Linked DNA regions of Homo sapiens: region 2 is linked to region 1. Evidence: promoter capture Hi-C in human tissues and cell types (Jung and others, 2019). All regions are on one chromosome and are shown on one strand. The core of a region is centred on a gene start or on the middle of the fragment in contact, and the rest is flanking DNA. Distances in the headings are between cores, read along the strand shown.

Evidence for each region. The method cuts DNA at HindIII sites, captures the fragments that hold promoters and counts their contacts. A contact is called where the count stands out against the background at its distance.
Region 2: a fragment that was not itself captured here is called in contact with the fragment with the promoter of ANKRD61 in region 1 in 2 of the 25 tissues and cell types used here (mesendoderm cells and spleen).

The regions. Positions count from the first base shown.
Region 1 is chr7:6,030,121-6,032,820 of GRCh38, reverse strand. It overlaps ANKRD61 (ankyrin repeat domain 61), which reads right to left and starts at 1,445. Exons shown (of 3, transcript NM_001271700.2): 1 at 1,230-1,445. The coding sequence starts at 1,445. The region is part of intron 11 of EIF2AK1 (eukaryotic translation initiation factor 2 alpha kinase 1); the gene reads left to right. The HindIII fragment of the contact is 7,395 bases long and covers 1-2,700 here.
Region 2 is chr7:5,906,537-5,909,302 of GRCh38, reverse strand. The region is part of intron 7 of CCZ1 (CCZ1 vacuolar protein trafficking and biogenesis associated); the gene reads right to left. Among named protein-coding and RNA genes, the nearest start is that of CCZ1, 9.2 kb to the right of the region's middle. The HindIII fragment of the contact is 4,548 bases long and covers 1-2,766 here.

The sequences.
Region 1 (2,700 bases), core at 196-2,695:
ACACATTACAAGTGGCCCTGTGTAGTTAAAAATACTGTTTGTGTTAGCTTGCCGTTTCAAAGGCAATACATTTATTTAGTGTCTCATTGGCTCACTCTTTTTCTGGTATGTGCATTGAAAGTTTCCTTTCTACTACCTGTTTTAAATGATCAAAATTCAGTGAATTCCATCCTATAAAATCTGTGTTTCACAGAAATGCACATTTACTGAGGCAACAGAAATAACACTCAAAAGCTTTGGAAATTTTTGAAAGTTGATTCTTCAGAAGAGCCTGTGGTGTGATATTAAGGGTACTTGCTATGAAGTCACTTATTCCTTAAATTAACCCACAGGGTGATGGACAAGTAGGTGCTGTGTCGTTGCCAAAGTCGTATTATCAGCAGTAAAACCTGAATCTTCAGGGTTTTCAAATATAACGCAGCATATGTTCTGTCTATGATTAGCAGAGCTGTTTGTGCCAGCTCTTAAAATACACACGTGTAAGTAGTGGTTTCACACCGTGGCTGCAAGATAAGACAGTAGGGTACAAGGGAGGGTGACTTCCTTTTTGAATTTAATTGTAAAAGTAATAATCATTGTATAAAAATTTAGAAAATGAAAATGTATATATTAAAAAGGGAAAAACTATTTTTTGTTTGTTTGTTTGAGATGGAGTCTTGCTCTGTCATCCAGGCTAGAGAGTGCAGTGGTACGATCTTGGCTCACTGCAACCTCTGCCTCCTGGGTTCAAGCAATTCTCCTGCCTCAGCCGTCCGAGTAGCTGAGATTACAGGCTCCTGCCACCAAGCCCGGCTAATTTTTGTATTTTTAGTAGAGACGGGGTTTTGCCCTGCTGGCCAGGCTGGTCTCGAACTCCTGACCTCAGGTGATCCACCCACCTCAGCCTTCCAAAGTGCTGGGATTACAGGCATGAGCTACTGCGTCTGGCCAAAAAAGGGAAAAACTAATTTGACCACATGGAGATCATCACTGTGGGTATGTTTGAGAGATGACATGAATGGTCTTCCAGTCACACAGGGTCTGGTGTTTTCTCATGTTGGTTTGTGTGTGACATGTGTAGGGGAGGCTTTGCAGGCTTTGGGGAGCACTGCAGTGTGTGTGGAGTGAGCTGGAGTCGTGTCTCATTCTCATAAGGGCCGTGAGCTTAGTGGGTTCACCAGCTTTAGATCATGCTTCTTTCTAAGCAGCCTGACTTTTTTCCAGAAGTGACTGAGCAGAAAAGAGGGTACCTGGGTCAGAAGTAATCTGTTGCTGGCGGAGTTGGGCAGAATGGTGATGGGCTGGTTGACAGGGTGATTTCTCAGGAGTACCTCGATCGTAGTGCAGTCTTCTCTCATGATGGCTTCATAGAGTTTCGAGTGAAGTGCTGCAGATGGGCCATCTTCCAGGGACTTGGCACTGTCAACCACCAGGTCTCTGCTTCCTTTCCTGGTTATATTCCCCATGAGAAAAACTTAAGACTTCAGGGGAAAATGTTGTTATGGAATTGGTCAGTTTCAGTCTCTTTGTGATGATTCTTTCAGTTCAGTTCTAGAACTGTTCTAGAATTTGTCGAGAATTGGATCTGTGAAGGCAATCCATCAGTTTGGAACCAAGCGTCCAGACTTTGTTCCTTGATCATAGAATGTCAAATGTCAGCAGTTTTTAGGGTTTTCTACTCTATCATAAAAACATATTCAAGCTATCATCTTACACCTTTATTTCTGATTTCTCTCCAGTTCAAGTGTAGCTGAAACAATGATCAAAGCTAAAACAGAGGAATTTATACATTAAAATACAAAGTTAAAATTATTACTTTTAAAGTAAGAAAACTTTTAACCTTAAGTTATTTTTTAGTTTTTATTATAATAGAATCTTCCCTCTCCCCATTATGGGTTCAGTTTTTCTCCGGCATAGGAATAGTTTGGGAGATGTTTTGGGTCTGTACTCTTTGCTTAAATAAAGCCATTTAGTGTGATCTATTAGTTCCCAACCCTGGCTAATACATATGAGTTATCTGGGAGCTTTTAAAAAATATCAAAGTTGGCTGGGTGCGGTCGCTCATGCCTGTAATCCCAGCACTTTGAGAGGCCAGGGCGGGCAGAACATGAGGTCAAGAGATCAAGACCATACTGGCCAACATGGTGAAACCCTGTCGCTACTAAAAATACAAAAAGTAGCTGGCTGTGGTGGCGTGCGCCTGTAGTCCCAGCTACTCAGGAGGTTGAGGCAGGAGAATTGTTTGAACCTGAGAGGTGGAGGTTACAGTGAGCCGAGATGGCACCACTGCACTCCAGCCTGGCGACACAGCAAGACTCTGTCTTAAAGAAAAAAATCAGTTTTTTCGTAGTGCGAGAAACATGCTCACCCGTCCAAACCCAAAGAGTGAACTTAGAGGCACAAAGAACAGTGAAAGTGAGACTTTTAATAGCCCTCTTGCAAGGTCACGTGTCTGGTAGGCAGGTACACCCAGGGCAGTTACAACAGGTGATTTATCTCCTAGCATGCAAGACCCTACCTCAGTTCCTCACTGGTCAAGGACTACAGGGTTACGATCTTCCCGGACGTCGCCTAAGTTGCATTATCCCCTTAGAAGGTTATACCCTGGTCCCTTTCCCGCTTAAGTTTGGATTTCCCAGTAATGAAACTTTCTTCCCTTTTATGGGCTGACTCCTCTACATCCTGTTCACTTATTGTGATCTTCCAGGTGGATGAGCCATG
Region 2 (2,766 bases), core at 1-2,500, 120 kb after region 1:
CAGCCTCCTGAGTAGCTGGGACTACTGGTGCTTTTCTCTTTAACATTATATCAAGAGGCTCACCACCTGACTGCGAAGTTAAGGAAGGTAAAGGGTTAAACTTGAGTCCAGGCACTGGAACTTTATCCTGACCTGCAAAAGGCTACTCCTACAGTCCTGTATTTTACATGCCATTTGAGATAAAAAAAAAAAAAAAGTCACAAGGGATTGGACTCGCTGGTTGAATTCCGTGTAGGATTATGCAGGAAACCTCCAAAGCCACACTGTTTCATTTTAGGAGCAGATGTCTCTTAGCTTCCTGGGTTATATGGTAATGCCACATTCTCTCCCCTAGTCCCCTGGGAAAATATGGGTATGCTGTAGACAGGGAACGTGATCCTAGGTCTCAGAAATGTACATGGATTTTAATTCTCCGGATCTTCGGTGAAGAAAGAGGAGGAGGAGAAAAACAAGCTTTCAGGCAAACCACCTGATCTGAAATGAGGCAGGAAGGAGCAGCACATGGAAAAAGCACAGAGAAACTAGCAGGTATCAGACTCTGGAACCGGTTTTTTAAAAGGAGACAGACAATGAGGCTGGATCTGGGCGTTTTCTATTCAAGATCACTGAAATACCGTGAAGGTGGTCGGGCGCGGAAGCTCACACCTGTAATCCCAGCACTTGGGGAAGCCAAGGTGAGCAGATCACCTAAGGTCAGGGGTTCAACACCAGCCTGGCCAACATGGCGAAACACCGTCTCTACTAAAAAATATAAAAATTTGCTAGGCCTGATAGCACACACCTCTAATCCCAGCTACTTGGGAGACTGAGGCATGAGAATCGCTTGAACCTGGGAGGCGCAGGTTGAAGTGAGCTGAGATCACATCACTGCACTCTAGCCTGGGCAACCAAGCCAATGAGACTCAGTCTCAAAAAAAAAAAATCAAAGCAATATACTAAGTAAATACATAAGGGTAATATATACTCTGCTTGTGACAAGTTTTTTTTTCCACTTTTTGGTAGAGACAGAGCCTCATTATATTGTCCAGGCTGGTCTCCAAGTAACTCCTGGCTCAAGCGATCCTTCTGCCTCCTCCTCCCCAGTAGCTGGGACTATAGGTATGTGCACCACGCCTGGCTTAAAAGTCTTTTTGGTATTTAATATAACAGCTTTGGAATAAGCAATTCCGTCAAAACGTGCTGTTTTTCTTTTTCTTAGACAGGGTCTTGCTCTGTCACCCAGGCTGGAGTACAGTGGTGCTATCATAGCTCACTGCAACCTCAAACTTCCAGGCTCAAGTGATTCTCCAGCCTCAACCTCTGTAGTCTCTGTAGTTGGGACTCTAAGTGCACACCACAATGCCCAGCTATTTTTTTTTTTTTCCATTTTTTGTAGATACAGTCTCACTATGCTGCCCAGGCTGGTCTTGAACTCCTGGTCTCAAGTGATCCTCCTGCCTCAGCCTCCCAAAGTGCTGGGATGACAGGTGTAAGCATTGGCGCCTGTTTTGCTTGAAGGTTATTTTTGTTGCTACTTCCTGGGACTGACCTTTCCCCACGAGCACACTGGAGGTGACAACAGAACAGTTCTGTGCAGCCACCAGAGCTGTGCCCTGCTCAACCCCTCAGATGCTATTCCAAGATGACGATGCCAACAGGATCCCCAGAGCTGGGCGCCAGATTGTCCTGTGACTCCAGGCTTCAAAGGGCCAACCCTGCTGGTCACTCTGGCTCCAGGGTCTCCCAGAATGAGCTCCTGGAAGACCCTCTGCTCTAAGCCTTCCCTCTTCCTCACTCTCAGGAGTTTGCACCCATGGCGGGGCTTGTGTTCTGTCCCAGAGATCAGAATCTCAGCTACCCTTCTCTTTTTGGTGGAAGCAAGGCCATGGGCCACTACTGCTGGATTCTGGCTTGTCACATGACATCTCCCTATCGCTGTGGCTGCGTGTGACTTGCAAGCACGTCCTGTCATTTCCATCTGTGGAGGAGCCATCCCTCTGCAGACCTGATGCTACAGAAGCACAACTAGCCTCCCATCTCCTACATTTCACAGCAGAATTTCACTTTAGTAACATTGTGTACATATCACAGAAAGCAACTATAGCTGAGTCAGTACAGTGTAAGGTTGCCTGATAAACTATTTGTCAAATTAGAAAGTAGGTGGAGGCGGGGCACAGTGGCTCACACCTGTAATCCCAGCACTGGGAGGCCAAGGTGGGCGGATCCTTTGAGGTCAGGAGTTCGAGACCAGCCTGGCCAACATGGTAAAACCCCATCTCTACAAAAAAATTAGCTGGGTGTTGTGGTATGCACCTGTAATCCCAGCTACTCGGGAGGCTGAGGCAGGAGAATTGCTTGAACCCAGGAGGCAGGGGTTGCAGCAAGCCAAGATCATGCCACTGCACTCCAGCCTGGGCAACAGAAAGCGACTCCATCTCAAAAACAAAAAAAAAAGTAGATGGGTTTCACCCGAAATTTCTGTTGTCTTCCTAGGAGATAAAGTTCATGTGGAAACCCACCAAGTTGTTTATTAACTGGATTCAAATTTCTTTACAGTAACTTGTTTCTCTTCTTAAAATGGAGCTACAAGATTTTGGCAGGGAAGGTAAATTTTAGGGGAACTAGTTTTGCCTTTTCTATTAGCTGAATTTACCTTATAGTAGTACCATATGGCCACACCCCTAATTAAGAAACTGGGCTAGGCCAGGTGCAGTGGCTCACACCTGTAATCGAGGCACCTTGGGAGGCCTATGCAGGGGAATCACCTGAGGTCAGGGGTTTAGGACC